Linked DNA regions of Homo sapiens: regions 2, 3 and 4 are each linked to region 1. Evidence: promoter capture Hi-C in human tissues and cell types (Jung and others, 2019). All regions are on one chromosome and are shown on one strand. The core of a region is centred on a gene start or on the middle of the fragment in contact, and the rest is flanking DNA. Distances in the headings are between cores, read along the strand shown.

Region 1 (6,025 bases), core at 1,926-4,425:
CATGTCTGTCTTACACGGCTCTGTATCCACCCTGATACTTAGCACAATTCTGACTCCTACCAGCACTCGTAAAATATTTCAAGTGTGTGATGAATGAATGATTTCCTAAATCTGACTATACCCAATCTTTCTCTCTTGGGATCCTAACAGCCTCTAAAAGTCAATAACTTTATTACACCCAGGGGCAGAACTCTTCAATCTCTTTACCTTCTGATAAAATTTTCAGAAATGCAAATCAGGGAGTTAAAAAATGCTTAACTTAGGCTGGGCACGGTGGCTCACGCCTGTAATCCCAGCACTTTGGGAAGCCGAGGCAGGCGGATCACGAGGACAGGAGATTGAGACTATCTGGCTAACACGGTGAAACCCCGTCTTTACTAAAAACACAAAAAGTTAGCAGGGCATGGTAGCAGGCGCCTGTAGTCCCAGCTACTTGGGAGGCTGAGGCAGGAGAATGGCGTGAACCCGGGAGGCGGAGGTTGCAGTGAGCCAAGATCGCACCACTGCACTCCAGCCTGGGCGACAGAGCGAGACTTCGTCTCAAAAAAAAAAAAAAAAAAGCTTAACTTTTGGCTGAGACTCCCAGGATTGTGTGTCTTGACTTGAAATTACTTTAGATCTGTACTGCTCTATATGGTAAAGACTACTATATGGGGCTACTGAGCACTTACAATGTTGCTAGACCAAGATGGGATGTGCTATCAGTGTAAAATACAACACTAGATTTTAAAGACTTGGTACCAAAAAAAATGTTAAATATCTCACGATGTTTTGTATTTTATTACATTTTGAAAATTTTGGGAGTTTTGGGTTAAATATATAATTACATTTTATTTCATTTGTTTCATTTTTTTTTTTTTTTTTTTTTTTTTTTTTTTTTTTTTTTTTTTTGAGACGGAGTCTCGCTCTGTCGCCCAGGCTGGACTGCAGTGGCACAATCTCAGCTCACTGCAAGCTCCGCCTCCCGGGTTCACGCCATTCTCCTGCCTCAGCCTCCCGAGTAGCTGGGACTACAGGCGCCCGCCACCACGCCCAGCTAATTTTTTGTATTTTTTTTAGTAGAGACAGGGTTTCACCGTTTTAGCCAGGATGGTCTCGATCTCCTGACCTCGTGATCCGCCCGCCTCGGCCTCCCAAAGTGCTGGGATTACAGGCGTGAGCCACCGCGCCCGGCCTTGTTTCATTTTTTTATGTGGCTATCAGAAAATTTAATATTACACATGTGGCTTGCTTTAGATTTCTACAGGACGGTGTTGTCCTAGACTATCTGCCTAAAAGGTATGTTGCATTTCCCCACAACATCCCTCCACCTCCTTTCACTTTAATCTATAATGAAACATCCTCTAAACTGTTTCATAGTTTTTCTTGTGTTAATATTTCTGATTGATCTTGATTGATATTTCTGATGCATGAGCTATTCTACCACCTCTGTGAACATGACTATTTTAAATAAGGCATAGTTTCCTACCACCATATTCAATGTTGGGTCTTACCACACCAAATCCCAGTGAACTGGAGATTTACCATTCTGTGGCTACTTTATTACTTATACCATGAACAATATGGTTAAGAACACAAGGACTGGAGCCTGGCCATCTGTTTTGGAGTCCTGACTCTAATACTTAATAGCTGTGTAACTTTGTTACTTTTTTTTTTTTTTGAGACGGAGTTTCACTCTTGTTGCCCAGGCTGAAGTGCAATGGCATGATCTCAGCTCATCGCAACCTCCACCTCCCGGGTTCAAGCGATTCTCCTGCCTCAGCCTCCCGAGTAGCTGAGATTACAGGCCTGCGCCACCATGCTTGGCTAATTTTGCATTTTCAGTACAGACAGGCTTTCTCCATGTTGGTCAGGCTGGTCTCGAACTCCTCACCTCAGGTGATCTGCCCACCTCGGCCTCCCAGTGTTGGGATTACAGGTGTAAGCCACTGCGCCCGGCTTACTTTGTTACTCTTAATATCTCTGTGCCTCAGTTCCTAAACTAAAAAAAGGAGATGATACAGTGTCCACTTCATAGGGCTGAGGATTAACTGATATTGGTAAAGAGCTTAGAATGGTACTGAGCATGCAGTATGTATGCAGTAATGAATACTATTTCTATCATTATACACATCTCTCACCCTTCCCACCTACTGATATGTTGGCACCTTTCCTGGTGGTGGTGTTTTATCCGAATCTGAGATTTTAAGCTCAGATCTTCTAACTCCAAACTGCTAGTTCCTGGATGAGTGGCATTTGAGTAAGGTACTAAATCTTTCTCATTTTTCAGTTTTCTCCTCTGTGAGAATGCCACCTTCCTTGCACAAGTCTGAATGACACAACATATATAAGGTTCCTTGCATGTTCCTTAGCATTTAACGAATATATCATATCACCTTTCTGGTTTATTACATGTGATTCTCACAACACACTATAAGACAGATATTTTATAAAGAAGGAAACAGGATCCGGGAAGACTCGCCTGAGGTTGCACAGATTAGCTACATGACAGCGCCAATATTGGAACGAGGTCTCAGTCCGACTCAAATGTTTTTTTCATGAAATTAAAGCTGCTTTTCTAAAAGCATGAGCCCTAGAACTAAATAAATTCATGCTGTTTATGGTATTCCAATGCCTAAAGAAATGCAAAAACCAGCAAAGTAAATCTACTGCCGTGTTGCCCATTGAAACTGCAACAGAAAGTCAAAATACAAGTTTTGTTAACACCGCTATAAGTCTTAGAGACGACGACGCGGGTGACATGTCAGTAAACAAAACAAAGCGAACAGTTACTCCTTTAGCTCCCCGAGGAAACTGCGGACCGCGTCCCATACACAGTCCGCAGGGGTACCATAGTCGGGCCTTCCGGGCTGGGCTGGTCCCTGCCGAGGCTACGCAGCCCGGCCACCCCCAGACCTAGAGGAGGCCAACGCCACGCCTGCCCGCCGGACCCTCCCCCTCGGATCTCGGGGCCCAGTGCTGCGCCCGCCCGCCCCTCACCTCCGGCTCCGGGCGCTCCGAGGCCATCACACAGCCCTCCCGCGCCGGCCCGGGCCAGTGAGGGTGTTCCACTCTTGACCCCTGACCTCGCTACCTCGGCACCCAGCAGGAACCGGAAGTTGGTGGGAGGGCCGAGTTCCAGTTTTCTGATTGGTGGACGAAGCCTTCTCGTAGGCGTTTGCTGACTGGAAAACCGGAAGTGAAATCGTGGCAGCCGCCTCGGCCGCCGCAATGCAGGTGAGAGTTGCGTTGGGCGTACTAGCGGCTGGCAAGCTTCGGGTACAGGGACCGAGAGTGGGCTGGCTAAGGAGAATGAAGAGTTGGGACTGAGAAGAGAGGGCAGAACCCACGGCTGATAAGGGAATGTGGGCTGGGGGGCGAGGCTAATTGGAGCGGGAGCGGCGGCGATTAGAGGTGGGGGTGGAGCTTGCCTGACAGGAGACAGTCGGGCTAAATCCGGAGGGAGGAGGCAGCACCTGTTTGCTTGGCGTGGGAAAGGATTAGGTTGTAATACGGGGAGGCTGAGATGCAGTCCAAGGAAGACGGCTCAAGAAGGTGGTGGGTTGGCTCAGGCCCTGTCCTAAGCTGCTGGATGGAGGCTGTTGGTTGCCGATATAGCAGGGGATCTAATTGGAAAGAAGCCCAAGCAGTGAGGGAATTGTGGGCCGCGATGGCTGAAAGCTAAGCAGCTTATAATCAGAGGCCATGGTGGAACCCGGGATCAAGTTTCTGTCAGGCAGGTTTGCAAGACAGTTTTGCATCCCTCTTCCCAGCCTGTGCCCTATAGTTGTTAAGGGTGAAGAAATGGAGTAAAACAGGAGACCACCGATGGGAAGGAAATGCTTTGCAGACCCCCAGCATTTTAATTTGTTTGTCCAGTGCTTAGAAGCATGTGTGGTTTTTGTTTTTCATTTGTCACTTAGTTTCTTGCAGCTGGTAGTCTCAATAAATGTTAATGGGTTGACTGAGCTTGTGAAAGAGGCACGGGAATATTGACACAGAGATAGATGATTGCATATTAATTCAGCAAGGAGAAGGTTGAAACAAAATGATGAGAGCAGATGGAAAGCTGGAGTCGTTGGTTGGGGGAGGGAAAGGGGAGAGCAGGACTGGTGTTCAGAGAAGTCTTCATGAGTAGGCAGATTTCCCAGAGACTGACAAGACAGCCAGGCTCACAGATGCTAGGATGGAGGAAGCTGGAGTGCATGTGCTACAGAGGTGCACATGAGAGAATGATCTCCTGGCATTAGGTCTGTCGAAAATGTCTCAGTGAGGGAGTGTAGGGTGTACCTAACACAGAGAAAAACCAGGCATAGATTAGGAGGTGATGGGGAAAAGGAATCAGTTGGTGGAAGGACTTGGGGTCAGGCAAACAGGTTGGAAGGTCTCAGGGTTGATGCTGTCTATAACCCAAATACCAAAGATAGAAAACAACCTGGCTATCCTATGCCAATGAGATCCTGTGTTACCTGACTGGTGTTGCACACCATCTCCTTGGCTTTCCAGCCCTCCTTTCTATGTGTCATACTCGTTTATCTGGGTGACCAACCTGTTCCTATTGGTGCAGAGAGAGGAGAAGCAGCTTGAGGCATCATTAGATGCACTGCTGAGTCAAGTGGCTGATCTGAAGAACTCTCTGGGGAGTTTCATTTGCAAGTTGGAGAACGAGTATGGCCGGCTGACCTGGTAAGAGTTACCAGGGCAAGCTAGGAAGGGCTTATGGGTGGGGGGGCCTAGCCTCCTGATGAATAGGACATTTCTAATGATGTAACCATTTATCAGTTTGCAAACATCTTTTGATTTGGAAAGAGCTGGGTTTCCTAACATTTAGCAAGTGGATTCCATGGCAAGGAAGTAGAGAAATGCTCAGTTTCCTAACCCAAGTTCTTTCTAGCTTTCAATTCTTACCCTTTGACTTCTCTGGTGAGGAGGTCCTCCCACTACAGCTCTATTCGTGCTGGATCTCTTGCCACAGATGTGGCTGAGTCTTTTAGAGCCAACCTACTCTGAAGTGTGGATCTTATTTCCAGGCTGGAAAGGAGGCTTTTACCCGGTTTCTGAAGTTTTAGTTATAACAGTGTAGCCCTGGTTCCTATTTTGCCACTGTTCCTCACCCCATTCAAACAATGAACTGGGTTTTTTCTACGTCTGTTTCATAAACTGAAACTATGTCCCTCTTTCATAGCCCTGTCATCCCTGTTAGTCTGTTCCCACTTAGGCTAGTCATAGGGCTATGAGACTTTTGGAGGTGAATCCAAGTGTTCCTAGCCTGAAGGAACTAGGACTATTTTACTAAGAACCACCCAGGGAAGGGGTACAACATTCTTACACCTTGTTACCACCACCAGGCCATCTGTCCTGGACAGCTTTGCCTTGCTTTCTGGACAGCTGAACACTCTGAACAAGGTCTTGAAGCATGAAAAAACACCGCTGTTCCGTAACCAGGTCATCATTCCTCTGGTGTTGTCTCCAGACCGAGATGAAGATCTCATGGTAAGAGGAGAAAAAGAATACAACTTGGGAAATTAAGGGGTTTTTTAGGCTTCTTTAGTATTTAGGGAAATTAAGTTATTAGCTGAGAGCCTAGAAATAATTTTGGAGGCCTTGCTTTTTGTTCTTCTGAAGGCGGGAGAGCCACTCCCAAATAGTGCTGTAATAACCTGAGGGGTATGTCACCAAGGCTGATACCTTTCTTCTCCAACATCTGTCTCAAGCCACAAAGTTTGCCCTTTTGTGACTTTGTCTATTCCAGTCTTTGAAGCGTGGCAGACAGTGATAGTTTAATTTGCCCCTAGGTCTGGTAGAGATAGGGATGTGAGAAGACACAAAAAATGAAGGATGGAGTAAAGGAGAGTGTGTCCTAGCAAACTAGATATTATGTCTCAGGTTGTATTTTCCTTGAAAATGCACTGTTTGCCTGTGGATGGGACTTTATGTCAGGCCAGATAGAATCTTCTTGGAGTACAGAGTAGGATCAATAAAATCTGTGTGTTACAGCGGCAGACTGAAGGACGGGTGCCTGTTTTCAGCCATGAGGTAGTCCCTG
Region 2 (6,025 bases), core at 2,265-4,764, 510 kb after region 1:
TATACACAGTCTTCTACATGTTTCTTGGTGCCCACATGCAAGAGTTTCCCTAGGGAATATACCTTGTAGTAGAATTGCTAGATTGTAGGGTACATGCATGTTCAACTTTTTAAGGTAATGCCATACAATTTTCCTATGGGAATTTTCCAATTTATACCAATATTAGAAACATACAAAAGTTCCTATTATGCCATATTCTCGTTAACATTTGGTATTATCCAACTTTTATATTTGGCGGTTGTGAAACTGGATTTTACTGTGGTCTCAACACACATTTTCCTGACTTTGAATGAACCTGAACATTTTAAAATATGTTTACATATTGTTTATGCTTTTTATTGAGTGGAAATAATGCTTTTTTTTGTCCATTTTGCTAACTGAATTGTCTCTTCTTATTGACTTAAGAAATTATTTACATATTCTACATATCAAATCTTACTTAGCTTTATGTGTTGCAATTATTCTCTCATTTTGTAGCTCATCTTTTCACTCTTTTTTTCTTTCTTTCTTTCTTTTTTTTTTTCTGAGTCAGAGTCTTGCTCTGTTGCCCAGGCTGGAGTGCAATGGCATAATCTCAGCTCACTGCAACCTCCACCTCCTAGGTTCAAGTGATTCTCCTGCCTCAGCCTCCCGAGTAGGTGGGATTACAGGCATGTGCCACCATGCCCGGCTAATTTTTGTATTTTTAGTAGAGGCAGGGTTTCACCATGTCATCCAGGCTGGTCTCGAACTGCTGTCCTCAGGTTATCTGCCCATCTCGGCCTCCCAAAGTGCTGGGATTACAGGCGTGAGCCACTGTGCCCGGCCCTTTTCACTTTTTTTATGTGAAATGTTTAATGTTAATGTAGTCAAATTCATTGATATTCTTTCTTTTAGTTTGTCCATTTTTGACCAAATTAAGAAATATTTTCCTATCCAGTAGTCAAAAAGATAATCTTCTATATTGTCTTGTATAACAATTTTTCTGTTTATATATAGGTCTCAAATACTCTAGGAATTGACTTTTGTGTATGTTGTAAGATAGGGATCCATTTTATTTTTCCCCTTATAATCAATCATCCACATACAATTTACTTTAGAAGGTCTGTGAATTGTCTATTTTAAAATTTTTAATTTTGAAATAATTTTAGATTTAGAGGTAGTTGCAAAGATAGTAGAGAGTCCCTGTATACCCTTCAATCAGTTTCCCCCAATGGTTGTATCTGACATAATTAAGGTACACTATCAAAACCAGGAATAACACATGGATACAATGTATGTGTATAGTTCTATATCATTTTATCACATGTGTATATTTGTGTAACCACCACAACAATCAAGATACAGAACAATTATATTATTATAAAGATCTCCCTGTGCTACTATTTATATTCACACATACCCAATTGTCTTTCTATTCTGTTTAAAGTATCTTTCAAAGACCAGAAATTTTGAATTGAAAAAGAAAACAACCCAATAAAAAATGGAAAAAAATATGTAAACAGACACTTCACCAAATAAGATATATGGATGCAAATAAGCACATAAAAATATTTTCAACATCATTGGCCACTAGGGAAACAAACATGAAAATCACAACGGTATACTTTGGAAAACAGTTTGGCAGTTTTTTAAAAAGGTAAGCATATACCTACCACTTGAGCCAGCCATTTCTAGTTATTTATTTACCCAAGAGAAATGAAAGCATATTGATGGCAGCTGCAGCCCATCTAGAGTGGCCACTGCAAAGTTGCTGGCTTTGCAATGGAGGAGACCCAGCTGGAACTGCATGCACCAAAGAGCTGGGAGCTGGAAACAGGTAGGAGCCCCACCTTTTTCCAAGTTGGCAGGGTGGGAGACCTGCTATCCCAGGCACAGCTGCAGCCACCCAGCTGTGGTTATGGATCCAGGCATCCTTGCACTCTCGGGGGCCCAGGAAGCCCCCCTGCCCCTGCAGGCTTGGAAGTACCTGCTCCCCTTGCCTGGCCTATCCCTGTATCCAGTGCATGCTCTGATTTTGGAACAAAGTTGAGGCCAAGCCTGGGCACTGTCACAACCCAGCAGGGTGTGGGAGTGCACTCAGGGTGGCGTTGACACACCAGCCCCCTGCCGCCTCGGCCACCTCCAGACTTTGAGATTGAGGGGGTTCTGAGGGCATCTAGGCATGGGCCTGCAGGCACCCTTCAGCACAAACAGCCTGGGCACTGTGGATGACATGATTGATGGTGGCAGGAGGCTGACAGGATTCTGGGCAGGTCCCCGGTGAAGCCCCATCTTCATGCCAGAAACGTCCTGGAGCATGGGAACTCGGCTGTCAGTTCTGGATGGAGTCTGCAGCCTGGAATGAGAACTTATGGTGCTTTTTCTGGGCCCACGTGTGGCCACCCATGGATCAATAAGCACACACTTCCTCCCTTCTGAAGCCCATAAAAAACCCAGACTCAGCCAGACTCAGAGTCACACAGATGTTGGGACAACCTGCCTGCAGATAGGAGCTACCCACTCTGGGTCTCCTCTCTTCTGAGGGCTGCACTTGACAGGATGAACTGCCTGTGGAAAGGAGCTACCTACATTGGGTCTCCTGAGAGCTGTACTGTTGGTCAATAAAGCACCTTTTCGCCTTGCTTACCTTCCAGTTGTCTGCATACCTCATTCTTCCTGGATGCAGGACAAGAACTCGGGACCCGCCAAATGGTAGGGCTGAAAGAGCTGTAACACAAACAGGGCTGAAACACATCCCACCCCCTCCCACTGGCTTGCCACATTGCAAGTGATGAGAAGGAGAGAAGAGCTGCAGTCCTTCAGGGAGTCCAAACCTAAGGGCTCTCTGAGCCAGGGCTGTGACACCCTCTTTGGGGCTCTGTGGTTCCTGGTATCTCCAAGCTTCCTGGAGGCACCACATTCCCTGGAGCCCACAGTGGAAGCCACATGCACTATGCCTGGTCCAGCCACAGCCTCACATGGAGCCAGCACCTGGGCCAGCGCCTGGAGCTGCCCACCCACAGCAGCTGGTGTGCCTGGCTGTGTGCAGTGGCTGGACCCCATGCACCTCTCTCATGCACCTCTCATCACTCTGCACCTGGCTCACCCTTGGCAGGCATGGGATCCGGGCCAGTAGAACAAGCTGAGCACAGCCTGTGAGGTTGAGTGGGCAGAATGAGCCTAGTAGACCCAAGCACAACTCGGGCAAAGGTGCCACTGGCCACAGAGGCTTCCAGCTGGAAAAGTGACACCCTAAGGATCCTGTGACAATTTGGCTATACAAAGAATTCTACAGAAATGTTCATAGCAGCTTTATTTGTAATAACCCCAAACTGGACACACTCAAAATGTCCATCAAGAGGTGAATGGATAAACATATAAATGTATGGCTATCCAATGAAATAAAATTCAACAATAAAAATGGATAAATATTTATATACACTACATAATGCATGAATCTCAAAATAATTATGCTGAGTGAAAGAAAGCAGACCAACCAAAACAAGAATACATACTGCATGATCCCATTTATACAAAATTCTAGAAAATGTAAGCTAATCTACGGTGACAAAAGCAGATTCAACATTCACCTGAAAGCCAATGGACAGAGAAGAGGGATGAGGGAAAGGGATCACAAAGGGCATGAAGAAACTTTTAGGTGTGATAGATGTGTTCATTATCTTGATGTGGTGATGGCTTTATAGGTGCAAACCTATGTCAAAACTTATCAAATTGTGTCAGCTGTGCCTCAATAAAGCTGTCAAAAAAGAAGAACCCATAAAAGATTTCTTTCTTTCTTTTTTTTTTTTTTTGAGATGGAATTTCACTCTTTCACCCAGGCTGGAGTGCAGTGGTGTGATCTTGGCTCACTGCAAGCTCTGCCTCCCGGATTCACGCCATTCTCCTGCCTCAGCCTCCCGAGTAGCTGGGACTACAGGTGCCCGCAACCATGCCCAGCTAATTTTTTGTATTTTTAGTAGAGATGGGGTTTCACCATGTTAGCTAGGATAGTCTCGATCTCCTGACCTCGTGATCCACCCGCCTCGGCCTCCCAAAGTGCTGGGATTACAGGCGTGAGCCACCACACCCAGCCAAAGATTTATTTCTTGCTCATGACACATGTCCATCATGAATTGGCTAGGAGTATTGTCCTCGTCCTCAGTCTGGGACCTGGGCTGATGGAGAAGGTACTACCTAGAACAATCCTGGTTGCCATAGCAGTGGAAAAAAGAGCACTGTGGCAAAATACACACTGATTCTTAGAGCTTCCACTCAAAGAAACAAGGCTACACATAACTTTTGAGGTGCTTATAACTTTGGAAATATATATTACTAGTGAATTGTAACTCCTCATTATGTGGCCATTTGTATCCCTAATAATGCTTTTTTCTTTAAAGTCTATATTTTCTACACACTAAATTTCTTTTAATTGGTAATTCCTTGGGATAATTTTTTAAATTCTTGTACTTTCAACCTTTCTGTGTGCTTACATTTTAGGTTTATTTCTTATAAATAACATATAACAGGATTTGAGGGTTTCTTTTTTTCTTTCTTTCCTCCTTTTTTTCTTTAGCAACAGGGTCTCACTCTGTTGCCCAGGCTGAAGTGCAGTGGCATGATTATAGCATACTGCAGCCTCGAACTCCTGTAAAAAGATCCTCCTGCCTCATCTTCCTGAGTAGCTCGGATTACAGGGATGTTGCCCAGGTTGGCCTGGAACTCCTGGCCTCAATAAATCCTCCTGCCCCAGTCTCCCAAAGTGCTGGGATTACAGGAGTAAGCCACAGGGGTTTTCTTAACTAATCTGAAAAATTTTTGTGTTTTAACTGGTTAGTTCATTCCATTTCACATTTATTTAGACAAATATTTCTATTTGTCCTATTTTTCTTTGGGATTGATTTGTTTTCATTAATCCAGGTTTTCCCCTTTACTAATTGGAATTCAATTTATTGCTTTAGTGCCTTCCTTACCATTTTCACAGGAATGCTTAATCTCAAAAATTAATATTTTTCCCTTTACCTGAATAATTACAGAATTTTAAATGCCTTACTGCAAACATCTTCTTCTAATTATTTCAATATATAAACCAGATCAATACCATTCAACACAAGCCCACAAAAGCAAGCAAAGTGTTTTGGTTTTCTTTTTCTCCTAGATCACTTTTTCACTAAGGTGTAGGTAATTGAGGGTATCATCTTTGTCCAGAGATCTCAGTTACAAATCTTCACCCTGCATAAATCCAAGTCCCCATTTTCTTGTCATTGTCTTGTCATTAGACTCACAGCCCTGACTTACAAGACCAGTAAACATGCTCAGAACATCCAAAGTGTCAGCACCCACTTATCACTTGGTTTTCAGCTTTCTGTTTGTTTTTTACCTCTAGGAATTTTCCTTATTTTCTTGAAAGCTGGTAATGACAGACCCTGCTGCTCCACTCCTGCCAGTGCCCCATCCCAGCTAATGTGCGTGCACCCCACTGTGCCTCTGCAGCTGCTAGCATGTGCAAGTGAGCACAGATCCTGCTGCCACTGCCCCTGTGAAGTACTTTGGCTGGCACTCTCCACTGGAATGTTGTGTGGCCAGCAGTCTGGGAATACCTCAGCCTCTCCAGTGTAACAAGTTCCTAACCTTGGGGGACCAGACAACAAAGCTGGGGGCTCAGTACCACGCCCCCAGAGTTAGAGTACAAAGCCCAGGAGTGTTGAGCTCTGCCTTGGCCTCTTGAAATCTTCTAGAAACAAAGCCCGTCAACTGAACCCACATTATGCCATTATCAAACCCCCAAGGGCATCAAAGAATATAAAAGCAAAACACCCCATCAAAAGGACAGCACATTCAAATATTAAAGGAGCATCAGCCCACATAGATGAGAAAGAACCAGCACAAAAACCCTAGTAAGAGTGTCTTCTTACCTCCAAATGACCACACTAGTTCCTCAGCAATGGTTCTTAAGCAGGCTGAAATGGGTGAAATGACAAACATAGAATTTAGAATATAAATAGGAACAAAGATCATCGGGATTCAAGAGAAAGTTGAACCCAATCCAAAGAATCTAAGGAACACA
Region 3 (6,025 bases), core at 2,210-4,709, 450 kb after region 1:
TGTAATCCCAGCACTTTGGGAGGCTGAGGTGGGTGGATCACTTGAGCCCAGGAGTTCAAGACCAGCCTGAGCAACACATCAAGACCTCATCTCAATTTTATAATTAAATAAATAAAAATTAAAAGTAAAAGATCAAGGCCCCAGAGAACAACCCATTGCTAGAAAAAGACCCTAAGTAGAAGAACAAGAGCTGGTATCTCTAAAACCAGGAGAGGATACCCTCCCAAGACAGAGGGATAATGTAAGCCATCGAAGGGCCAGGGTATTTGTCTGGTTTGTCCACGGCCGTGTCCTTAGTGCCTAGAACGGTGCCTGTCATAGTAATAGACACTGGTGGATAGTGAGTGGAGGAAGGCCATCGGGTACCCCAGGGGTTGAACTGGGCAAGCCTCTCCACATTGCTGAATGCAGAAGAGGCGATGGTGGCCTTGTGGCCACTCGGGCTGACTGGGTGGCACAGCGTGGATAGAAGCCTCACTACGATTGGGTGAAGAGTGAGAGGCAGATGAGAAAGGGTGGAGACGGCTCTTCCAAAAGAGTTGGTGGGAGAGGGAGAAAAGAGGAGGTTTGGAATGATGGTATGGCTAGGAATTTATTTATTTATTTTAATGAAGGTTATTTTTAAACATGTTGGAAGGAATCAGCAGGAGAGGGTGAAGATAAGGAAGTGAGGGCGGAGGTCTTCCAGGAGGGAGGGTGGTGTCGGAGCAGAAGGGAGGGGCTGCCTTTGGCCAGGAGGGACTGAGATACCTTTTTTTTTTTTTTTTTTTTTGAGACGGAGTCTTGCTCTGCTGCCCAGGCCAGAGTACAGTGGCATGATCTTGGCTCACTGCAACCTCCGCTTCCTGGGTTCAAGTGGTTCTCGTGCCTCAGCTTTCCAAGTAGCTGGGCTACTGGTACAGGTGTGTACCACCACGCCCAGCTAATTTTTGTGTTTTTAGTAGAGATGGGGTTTCACCAGGTTGGTGAGGCTGGTCTCAAACTCCTGACCTCAGGCGATCCACCTGCCTTGGCCTCCCAAAGTGCTGGGATTACAGGTATGAGCCACCATGCCCAGCCAGGGACTGAGAGACTTCTGAAGATGTAGACAAATCTGAGATGAACTTCTGTGATCCCCGGGGCCTCCCATCTAATCAGAAATAGGCAAGAGGTTATAACTGTCATGGAATATGGGCAGAACCTCTGACCAGGGCATCACGGGGCTGGTCAGCAGCACAGAGGGCCCAGATGAGCCTGTAAACTGCATTCATAGGACCATGTATGGTCACCTGTCCAAAGGTCACTTCAGGAACCAGCCCCAGCAGACCGAAGCTGGAGATGTGAGTGGCCAGAACTGAGAACGCTGAAATCTAGCGGTGTTTCTTGGGCAAGCACCCAGACACTTGGTCTGTTGACTTTTGTACTTTACAAACACTTCTCACAAGGCTGGCTGTAGTTTTTCCAACCAGGAGCCAGATTAGAAGTGATACATGTAACATGTGAAGAGAGGACAGAAGGACCCAAGAAGAAGAAATGAAAGTGAGGCTCAGAGCCCATGTGTAGTAACAGGGCAGAGAGACTCCTGTGCCCGCGTAGGCTGAAGGCCTGCCCTAGGGCGACACAGAGATTCCATCTGGCCAACCCTTTCATTCAGCCAGGACTTCCTGAGCATCCACGCTGTGCCAGATGCGGTCCTAGACAGTAAGGAGAGAGAAGTATAGCTGTGAACACAGCAGGCACATGCTGGCCCTCAGGGAGCTGCCTGAGACACAGTCTGAGCCAGGCCCTGTCTCCACAGCAGTGGGAGAGACCCCTTGGAGAAAGCCAGAGTGTCACTAACAGAGGGCTTCAAGGTGCTGTGAGAGCAAACGGGGCAACTAATGCTGGGGCTGGGGTGACAGGGGAGATTAAAAAAAGGGCTTCACGAAGGACTTGGCAGCCATGCTCGACCTTGAAGGGTTAGTTGACCTCATAGGGCAGGAGGGGCAGGTGTCTGGGCAGTGAGAGGGGCTTCTGCAGAGGTGCAGGGGTGTGAAATGTTCTGCTGATGCGGAATTGCTAACTGCCTGCAGTGGGCACACTGACTTCCCTTGTCTGTTTAGAAGAACCTCTCTTAGGAAACAGCATTGGGTTGGCCACAGTTTGCCTACTCTTGAGAAGAGACTTTGCCCCACAAGTGGTGAGGATGCCAGAAGCTTGTTCTCTTCCATAAAACAGGCCCCAAAGGGCTTCCTCCTGGAAGTGGTTAATTAATCATACTACCTTATATGTTTACAAAGCACCACCCCATAAATTACCACCTCACAGCAACTCTACAAGGCAGGCGGGGCTGACATCTTCCCCTCTTCTAAATGAGGGAACTGAAGCCAGATGAGGTATCTGGAGAGTGAGAGGCTGAGCTAGAGGTGGGCTCCAGGCCTTGTGCCTCCCCAGCTCTGCACACTGCCCCTGCCCTGCTGTGAGTGTGACAGGACATTCCTGCCATGCATCCCCTCCTGGAGGAGGAGGACAGAGCAGAAGAGGTGAGCCCAGCCACAGAGGGAGCAGCTAAATGAACCAGGGAATCCTGACCATCATACTGGGCTCATCCGAGCACTGCCTTTCCCCTCCCCAAATGACTGAGCTGCCAGTAGAGATGACTGACGGCCACTGAGAAACCATGAAGTCCTGGCCCAAGGGACAGTGTCAGGCATGTCTGAGAATAAGGCATCCTCAGAATCCAGAGTTTGGGCCAGAAAGGCCTCAGTTGTTTGACAAACAACACTCCTTGTTTGACAAAGGAGGAACCTGGTCTGCAGAGGAGGTGAGGTCTGCCCAGGATGACCCAGCTTGGTGAGTGAAAGAGCTGGAGGCAACACCCGCCTCCCAACCCAAGCCCTGTGTCCCGTCAGGCTGAACTGGGCTTCGTGCTCTAGGCAGCCTCTCCTTCTCTCTCCTATATCCAAAGAGTTCTAGTCCTCTCTCCCCTTCACCCGTCACCACTACCATAAACCCTTACTGCTTACTTATAGCTTGCCCAGGCATTGTTATACATACTCTAGAAATAGTAATTCAGTTGTTCTTCAAAATAACCCCATTAGGCAGACACCATAATTTTCCCTGCTCTATAAGAAACTGGGGCACAGGAATGTTAAGCAATTAAAGCAAGGACACACAGCTAGTAAGTGGCAAGGCTGCAATGTAACTCCGGGGAGTCTGGCCCTAGTCTGTGCCCTTGACCATTGTGGAAGATGGACACAGTCCCAGATGGGCACCTAAACACCCTTTCACTCACCTACAACTGCCACCTAGCTGGCAGTGTGTGGTCTCACTTTGGAGCTGAGTCAAGCTCAGTCATGTACCAACATCTCAGGTTTCCCACACACAGTTGCACAATCTCTTACACCATCACACCCTGTCATATCACATCACCCCTCAAGCCCTTCAGTTAGATTCATGGCTTGTTGGTCATTTAGTGTCAACTCTGCACCTCCACCACCGTGCTGGGCACCAGCAACATGGATGCATCAGACAGACCATCTCCGTGCTGAGGTTTACTGTACAGGGAGCACACGGTACCTTACAGTTAGTCTTCTAAAGGCGATGATGGAAATGCGAGCAAGCACAGTGGGAGCAGGGAAGGAAGAGGGAGAGGGTGCTTCGCCCTTAGAGCAGGGTTTCTCAGCTTGGCACTGTGATGTTTCTGCTGGTGTTGTAGAGGCCTGTCCCATGCATTGGAGGATGTTTATCAGCATCCTTGGCTTCTGCCCTCTAGATACCAGTAGCCAGTGTGGCAACCAAAAATGTCTCTGGGCATTGGCAGATGTCCTATGGGGTACCAAAGCCGTCTCTGTTTGAGAACCAGTTGCAGTGGAGTGGGAGGGGTGGTTCTCGGGAGGAAGGCTTTCCAGAGGAGTATCTGTGCATGTTCTGAAAGGTGATTAGGCCCAAGCAAAGGTGTGAGGTGTCTAGGTCGTATGAGGGAGTCACTGCGTGTGCCTTGTGAGTCATAGTTGGGGTAGAGGAGACACTTTATTGCAAGAGCTGAGAAGGGCTTCGGGTGTGGCCACGGCAGTGGGATGATTCCTCTGTCTACCGGGAGGCCTGGCCTGGCCTGGCCTTGGTTTGGAGGCTAGCCATGTCAGGGCTGTTCCAGGGAAGCAGCCTGGGTGGTCCAGCCCTCTGCAGGGGGGTTGGGGCCCAGCTCTAGCCCCAACCTGGGCCTCTTCCCCCAGGCCCCAAAGTGAGGCCCCAGGGGACCCAGTGGGCAGGGTTATCTGTCCAGCCCCACCTGGAACATCTGGCTCCAATCTCCCAGCTCACCCTGGGGTGTGGCTGAGAGTTGCTGTGGAGATGAAGGCCCTGGGCTGAGAGCTTGTGGGAAGGGCAGTGTGGGGCCAGCCCCAACTGGAAGACAGGGGCAGGCAAGGAACAGGGGTGAAGGCCAGGCTGAGAGGCTAAGCCGGAGAAGCTGGCCCTTTCCTCCTTGTAACTGGCGCTGAAAGCTTGGCTGGCAGTTTAGCCCCTTCTTCCCCACAATAGCATCCCGTAGAGCACAGGGAGAGTTGAGACCGAGCCTAAACCTGGCCCAGGGATCCCTGCTGGGGATGACCTAACTGACCTAGTCCTCCTGGGGTAAAGGAATGTCTAGAGGGAAGGATGGTGAGACCAGCCAGAGGTTCCAAAACGCATACCCCTCCTGGCAGTGGTCTAGAATCCTAGATCAAGGGTTGGCAGGAGGGCCACATCCAGCCAGCAGCCTGTTTTTGTGCAACCCATGAGCTAACAATGGTTTTTACATTTTTACAAGGTTGAGAAAAAAAGAACAATGAGTGACAGAGGCCATATGTGGCTCACAGACCCTACCTAATGGATTCTAGCTAGCCTTTTACATAAAATGTTTACCCCAGTCCGGCTCTGGAGCACTTTGACTTGCATGCTCCCTACTTACAGGGAACTCACCACCTGTAAGGTGGGCAGCCTCATACCCTGAAGTCTATAAAGCTCTTCCTTCCCCTGAGCTGGAGTCTGGCCCTGGCACCTCTGCCCTCTGGGGCTACAGAGTGCTGGGTTCCTCTGCCAGGAGCAGCCGAGCAGGGTCTGGAGACTAGCTTTATTCCCTGAGGCAGGCCCGTAGTTCCTTCAGGTTCCTCCTTACTCTTACATTCTTAGGGTAATGATTTCTGGCAATTTCAAAATGGAAAACCTTGTCCCTAAGGCTCCTCCGAAAGTGGTGACTTCTTTTCTTGAGAGAGCAACAGTGACAGCAGTAACAGCTTACCCATGTGCCAGGCAGTGTTCGCCGCCTCATGCCCCTCTACAAAGGGGAAGTGAGAAGTTCCTTGGCAGATGGGCAGACATGTAGTCTCACCCACAGTTGCCTCGACTGGCGGGAGGTGGTGTGGGGATTCCCAGGTGTCCTTAGGCTTGGGCAGGCCTCCCCCTCACCCCAGGAGAGCCACCGGGTGAGGAATAGCTTCGCGTACCAGAAGCCATCCGGTTCAAAGGATCTCAGCTGCCCAGAGTCAACCTGCTTCTCCAGGGTGGTCTCCATGGTGGGTGTCCTCTAGGCTCAGTGAGGCACCTGGACAGAGATCTGTAGTAGCCCCTCAGCTCTAGGCTGGCCGACACCATGGCAGTCCCCCCAGGAACTAACCAGAACCGCTCCTCCCTCCTCAACACGCTTGCCGCCACCCAGACTCCACAGCTGGGTGAAGAGACTGGGCTGGGAAGGGAGCAGAGAAGCGGGTGGATGGCCGAGCCTGGCACATTTGGTGTGCAGGACTCCGACTGCATTCTGAGGGGTGGTTCACTGTGGGAAATGGGGTCTGACTTTGGTGGATAGGAAGAGTCGGGAGCAGAATCCAGATGAGACCCAGGGCAGGCTGCCTGGGTAGAGAAGTAGGACAGACTCGGAGGCAGAATCGAGAGGACCTGGTGATGGATGGATGTGGGGTGGTGGCAGCATCAAGTGTTTAAATCCTAAGCTTGGGACGGGCATGTGAGGTGGGAGCGTTCAGAACAGGCACGTGCCAGGTCTCACCTCACACATGACCCAGGGTTGCGG
Region 4 (6,025 bases), core at 2,180-4,679, 300 kb after region 1:
GGAAGGCCAAACCGAGGAATTATGTCTGACAGAAGAAATGACTGCGGTGGCCTTCTCAGACCCTGTAGGAAAGGCCTCTACATATCCAGTGAAAGTGTCTACCTAGACTAGGAGGTATTTTAGTTTTCTGACTCAATTTGCCAGTCTTGGGCAGGACTCGAGCTTGATGTGTAGGAAAGGGAGGAGGCCTGAATAATCCCTGAGGGGTAGTAGAATAGCAAATGGAACACTGAGAAGTGATTTCCTTGAGGATAGATTTCCAGGATGGAAAGGAAATGTGAGGTTCTAAGAGGCGGGCTAGTCGCTTGTACTATAGCATAGCCTGCCTTTGCTGGTGTGTGGTGATTAGGCCTGGTGGAACTGCCATCAATAAATCAAGCATGATCAGGGTGAGGAACAGGAAAGAAGGAAATATGGGGAAATGGGGTGAATGTCAGGTGGATCAGAGAGATACAGTTATGGGGGTCAGGTGTGGTATCAGGAATAATGTGGGAGGCTGGATTGAAGTCCGGGCCAGGAACAATGGTAATTGTGGGAGACTTAACAAAGAGTGAGTACAGCTGAAGGAGCCGGGGAGCAGAAAGTATATGTGTCAGGTGTGAGGAAGAAAATAGATTTTGGAAATTATGAGAGCTGTAGAGAGTGAGTTGAGCATAGTTTGTGATTTTGAGGGCCTCTAAAAGTATTAGGGCAGCAGCAGCCGCTTCATGGAGACATGATGGCCAGCCTAAAACAGTAGGGTCAAGTTATTTGGACAAAAAGGCTACAGGGTGCGGTCCTGGCTCTTGTGTAAGAATTCTGACTGCACTAACCATGCCTAGGAAGGAAAGGAGTTGTTGTTTTGTAAGGAATTGAGGTTTGGGAGATTAATTGGACATGACCAGCAGGGAGAGCACAGGTGTTTTTATGAGAATTATGCCAAGATAGGTAACAGATGAGGATGAAATTTGGGCTTGACTGAAGTAATGGGGGCTGTCTGTGAAGCCTTGCGGCAGTATAGCCCAGGTAATTTGTTGAGCCTAATGGGTGTCAGGGTCAGTCTAAGTAAAAGTGAAGAGAGGCTGGGATGAAGGGTGCAAATGAATAGTAAAGAAAGCATGTTTGAGATCCAGAACAGAATAAGGGGTTGTAGAGGGAGGTATTGAGGATAGGAGAGTATATGGGTTTGGCACCACGGGGTGGATAGGCAAAACAATTTGGTTGATAAGGCACAGATCCTGAACAAACCTGTAAGCCTTGTCTGGTTTTAGGACAGGTAAAATGGGGGAATGGTAAGGAGAGTTTATAGGCTTTAAAAGGCCATGCTGTAACAGGCGAGTGATAACAGGCTTTAATCCTTTCAAAGCATGCTGTGGGATGGGATATTGGCATTGAGCGGGGTAAGAGCGATTAGGTTTTAATGGGATGGTTAAGGGGTGCATGATCGGTCGCTAAGGAGGGAGTAGAGGTGTCATACTTGTGGGTTAAGGTGGGGAGATACAAGGGGAGGATGTGAAAGAGGCTTTGAACTGAGGGAAAAGGCGGCAATGAGGTGTGGCTGTAGCCCAGGAATAGTCAGGGAAGCAGATAATTTAGTTAAAGTGTCTCGGTCTAATAAGGGAACTAGGCAGGTGGGGATAACTAAAAAGGAGTGCTTAAAAGAGTATTGTCTAAGTTGGCACCAGAGTTGGGGAGTTTTAAGAGGTTTAGAAGCCTGGCCGTCAATACTCACAACAGTTATGGAAGCAAGGGAAACAGGCCCTTGAAAAGAAGGTAATGTGGAGTGAGTAGCCTCCATATTGATTAAGAAGTGGGCGGATTTACTCTCTACTGTGAGAGTTACCTAGAGTGTCTGTGATGGTCCTGTGGGCTTCTGAGGCAATCGGGCAGTGTCAGTCTTCAGATGCTAAGCCAAGAAGATCTGGGAAGGAGTCAGTCAGAGAGCCTTGGGCCAGAGTTCCAGGGGCTCTGGGAGTGGCTGCCAGGTGAGTTGAACAGTCCGATTTCCAGTGGGGTCCTGCACAGATGGGACACGGCTTAGGAGGAATCCCAGGCTGTGGGCATTCCCTGGCCTAGTGGCCAGATTTCCGGCACTTGTAGCAAGCTCCTGGGAGAGGAGATTCTGGAGGAACCCTTGGCAGCTGCGGTTCAGGCGTTTGGAGTTCTTGTGTGCTAGAGATGTGGCTGGGGTTTGTCTCACTGTGGAGGCAAAGAATTGCAACTCAGAAATATGTTGCTACTTGGCTGCCTCTACTCTGTTATTGTACACCTTGAAGGTGAGGTTAATTAAGTCCTGTTGTGGGGTTTGAGGGCCGGAATTTAATTTTTGGAGTTTTATTTAATGTCGGGGGCAGATTGGGTAATAAAATGTATATTGAGAATAAGACAGCCTTTTGACTTTTTAGGGTCTAGGGCTGTAAAGCGTCTCAGGGTTGCTGCCGAATGAGCCACGAACTGGGCTGGGTTTTTCATATTTGATGAAAGAGCCTAAATGCTCACTGATTTGGGAGAGGTCTGATAAAGAAAAAGGAGCATTAACCTTGACTATGCCTTTAGCTTCAGCCACCTTTTTAAGAGGAAATTGCTGGGCAGGTGGGGGAAGGCTAGTCGCAGAACGAAACTGTAAGCTGGACCAGGTGTGAGGAGGGGAGGTGATAAAAGGATTATAGGGTGGGGAGCAGAGGCTGAGGAAGAATTGGGACCTGGCTCGGCCTGGCAAGGAGGGGAGAGGTCAGATGGGTCTGTAGAAAAGGAAGATTAGAAAGACTTAGCGACGCTTGGGGTTGGGACTGAGGGGACAGGCGGGAGGGAAAGAAGGAGGATCTGGGACGAGTCACATTGGGAACAGAGACTAGGGAGGGAACAATGTATAAAAGAATGCCTGGACATCAGGCACCTCAGACCGTTTGCCTATTTTATGACAAGAATTATTTAGATCTTGTAGGATGGAAAAAATTGAAAGTGCCATTTTCTGGCTATTTGGAACCGCTGTCGAGTTTGTATTGGGGTCAAGTGGCATTGTAGAAGAAAATAAGGCATTTAGGTTTTAGGTCAGGCGAGAGTTGAAGAGGTTTTATGTTCTTAAGAACACAGGCTAAGGGAGAAGAAGGAGGAATGGAGGGTGGAAGGTTGCCTATAGGCAAGTTTAAAGAAAAGGGAGAGTAGAGACACGGAGGGAAGTGGTTCAGGGGTTCTTACCCTCCAGAAAAGGGGGAAAGGGGTCGGGGCGCAGAAATAAGGGGTTGGGGTGCAGAGATAAGAGGTCGGGGCACGGAAATAAAGGATCAGGGTGCAGAGATAAGAGGTTGGGGTGTGGAAATAAGGGATTGGGGTGCAGAGATACGAGGTTGGGGTACTTGCCCCTCCCTTAGAAAAGTGGGACTTGCCACTAAGGGTAAAGGAGAAGGGGTTGGGGGTTTCTTGCCTCCCAGAAAGGCCGAGAAGGGGTAGAGACACAGAAGGGGTTGGGGTACTTGCCCCTCCCCCAGAAAAGTGGGACTTGCCGCTAAGGGTGAAGGACCAAGGCAGGCATCCCTGCGTGGTCTGACACCTCTGAAGCATGGATGAATAATCAGAGAGGTGTCCCTGCAATGATTAAACACCAGGGGAAGGCTGCCTTCCCAGTCCGCGACCGGCGCTGGAGTTTTGGGTCCACGGATAAAACGTGTCTCCTTTGTCTCTACCAGAAAATGAAAGGAATTGAAATTAAAAGAAGGGAGAGATTGAAGTGTGGCGCCAAGATTGAAAGGAGAAAGAGGTTGAGGGATAGTGAGGGAGGTTGGAGAAGAGAGTAAAAAGAGGCCACTTACCGGATTTGAAATTGGTGAGATGTTTCTTGGGCTGGTTGGTCTGAGGACCTGAGGTTGTAGGTGGATCTTTCTCACAGAGCAAAGAACAGGAGGACAGGGGATTGATCTCCTAAGGGAGGTCCCCCGATCCGAGTCACGGCACCAAATTTCATGCGCGTCTGTGTGAAGAGACCACCAAAGAGGCTTTGTGTGAGCAACATGGCTGTTTATTTCACCTGGGTGCAGGCAGGCTGAGTCTGAAAAGAGAGTCAGTGAAGGGAGATGGGGTGGGGTCGTTTTATAGGATTTAGGTAGGTAAAGGAAAAAGGGGAGTTGTTTTCTGGCGGGCAGGAGTGGGGGTCACAAGGTACTCAGTGGGGGAGCTTTTGAGCCAGGATGAGCCAGGAGAAGGAATTTCACAAGACAATGTCATCAGTTAAGGCAGGGCCGGGCATTTTCACTTCTTTCGTGATTCTTCAGTTACTTCAGGCCACCTGGGCGTATACGTGCAAGTCACAGGGGATGCGATGGCTTGGCTTGGGCTCAGAGGCCTGACAGTTCAAATCCTTTAAACCTGCCATAAATTCTTTTTTCAGTAAATTTATTTAGCTTAGGAAAGAAACACTTGCAAAAATTAGTTTGAATTATTTGTATATTTGCAGCATGATAGGAAGGTCTTTTTTGTTTGTTTGGCCTTCTCTCCTAAGCTGAAATGGAACCATATACTCACGGGGAAAAAAAAGGAATTTAATATTGCCAGGAATATTTGCTGTTTGTCCCAGCTGAAACCTGATTATAAGATATTTTTAAAGGACTTTTAAAGAGCTCTATCAACATAAGTCAGCTTAATTGGAAGCTTGTAATTTTGGTGGGGGTGGGGAGAGGGGGGAGCTTTCTATTGTCTCTATTGGATCCTGCTTCTCCCATGAAAACTTCTCAGTCAACTAAGCCCCTCTTCTTGGACCCCTGCTAACTGTATGCTGTGCCCCATCTGTCTACTTTCTTTCTCGTGGGCATGATTTTTGGCTATTTAAAAATTGAGCAAATGAAATATCTTAAAGGTCTTTTCTACTAATATTTGTAAAAAGCATTATTTGAATTGGCTTAGAAATAAATGAGCAATACCTAAAACTGCTAGAAATATGGGAACTAACCCAACATGCTTGTCAAGTTCACGTGACGTAGATGAGTCTTTGGCAAATAAGACAAGCTTAATATCATTTGGTTTAATGAAAACAGCTGTGTCTTCTGGGTTATCAATGAAATACCCATGTATTTTACTTTAGGGTTCCTGCTTCAGCAATGACTGCCTGATATGCTCATGATGTATAAATGGTTAATGGGGAAATAACCTAAAAAGATGGCTAACTTTGTCTCTAATGTCTCATTTAATTTTCATGAGTATTCTAGGCATAATTGTTAAAAAAAAAGTGATCTAAATAGCTATAACTTGGATAAAGTTTATAAATGAACTTTTTAACAACAATTATGTTTTATAATATGTCTGCTTAAAAACTGTTTCCTAAGGCTGGGCGCAGTGGTTCATGCCTGCAATCGCAGCACTTTGGGAGGCCGAGGAGGGCGGATCACGAGGTCAGGAGATCGAGACCATCCTGGCTAACACAGTGAAACCCCGTCTCTACTAAAAATACAAAAAAAAAAAAAATTAGCTGGGCGTGGTGGCGGGCGCCTGTGGTCCTAGCTACTCAGGAGGCTGAGGCAGGAGAATGGCATGAACCCCGGAGGTGGAGCTTGCAGTGAGCCCAGATCGCGTCACTGCATTCCAGCCTAGGCGACAAAGCAAGACGCCGTCTCAAAAAAAAAAAAAAAGTTTTCTAAATCTCTTTAGTAACTGTACCCTTAGAGTTTTGCTAGGTTAAATTAAATGATAGCTATTCATTGAATAACTATGTTATTTCCAATTAACATAAAATACTAAAACATAAATTACTGAACACAAGTTTAATTTTATTTTTGGCTTTTAAAATTTTATAAAAAGACTAAATATATTTGGGTCTGTTAGCAAACATGAAAAAATTGTTCTATGAGGAAGCACCTGTTTCTAGAAATTATAAAATGATAGGACAGTTTACAATGCTTGCTAGTTTTTATTGAAAATTAAGGTTTCTAAGAGTTTGTAAAAATACTAATCAATATATGGCAATTAAAATTAAAAAGGAAAAGGAGAATAACTCCATATGTGAGGAAAGTAAGACATGTTTTTGGTAAGTAAAGTTATGAGGTATGAAAGATGAGCT

The links. The method cuts DNA at HindIII sites, captures the fragments that hold promoters and counts their contacts. A contact is called where the count stands out against the background at its distance.
Region 2: a fragment that was not itself captured here is called in contact with the fragment with the promoter of MED8 in region 1 in 1 of the 25 tissues and cell types used here (liver).
Region 3: a contact is called between a fragment that was not itself captured here and the fragment with the promoter of MED8 in region 1, in 1 of the 25 tissues and cell types used here (dorsolateral prefrontal cortex).
Region 4: a contact is called between a fragment that was not itself captured here and the fragment with the promoter of MED8 in region 1, in 1 of the 25 tissues and cell types used here (spleen).

The regions. Positions count from the first base shown.
Region 1 is chr1:43,386,950-43,392,974 of GRCh38, reverse strand. MED8 (mediator complex subunit 8) reads left to right here and starts at 3,175. Exons shown (of 7, transcript NM_201542.5): 1 at 3,175-3,216; 2 at 4,547-4,665; 3 at 5,328-5,472; 4 at 5,977-6,025. The coding sequence starts at 3,211. SZT2 (SZT2 subunit of KICSTOR complex) reads right to left here and starts at 3,076. Exons shown (of 72, transcript NM_001365999.1): 1 at 2,980-3,076. The coding sequence starts at 3,006. RefSeq lists a silencer at 2,756-3,085 and an enhancer at 4,526-4,665. The HindIII fragment of the contact is 6,675 bases long and covers 1-5,865 here.
Region 2 is chr1:42,877,017-42,883,041 of GRCh38, reverse strand. It overlaps LOC339539 (a long non-coding RNA gene), which reads right to left. Exons shown (of 4, transcript NR_104171.1): 3 at 2,609-2,688. Among named protein-coding and RNA genes, the nearest start is that of ZNF691, 33 kb to the right of the region's middle. The HindIII fragment of the contact is 7,806 bases long and covers 1-6,025 here.
Region 3 is chr1:42,934,700-42,940,724 of GRCh38, reverse strand. All of the region lies in intron 2 of SLC2A1 (solute carrier family 2 member 1), which reads left to right. Among named protein-coding and RNA genes, the nearest start is that of SLC2A1, 21 kb to the left of the region's middle. RefSeq lists enhancers at 3,843-3,912, 5,287-6,025. The HindIII fragment of the contact is 5,642 bases long and covers 639-6,025 here.
Region 4 is chr1:43,083,833-43,089,857 of GRCh38, reverse strand. No RefSeq gene overlaps it. Among named protein-coding and RNA genes, the nearest start is that of CFAP144, 61 kb to the left of the region's middle. The HindIII fragment of the contact is 6,717 bases long and covers 71-6,025 here.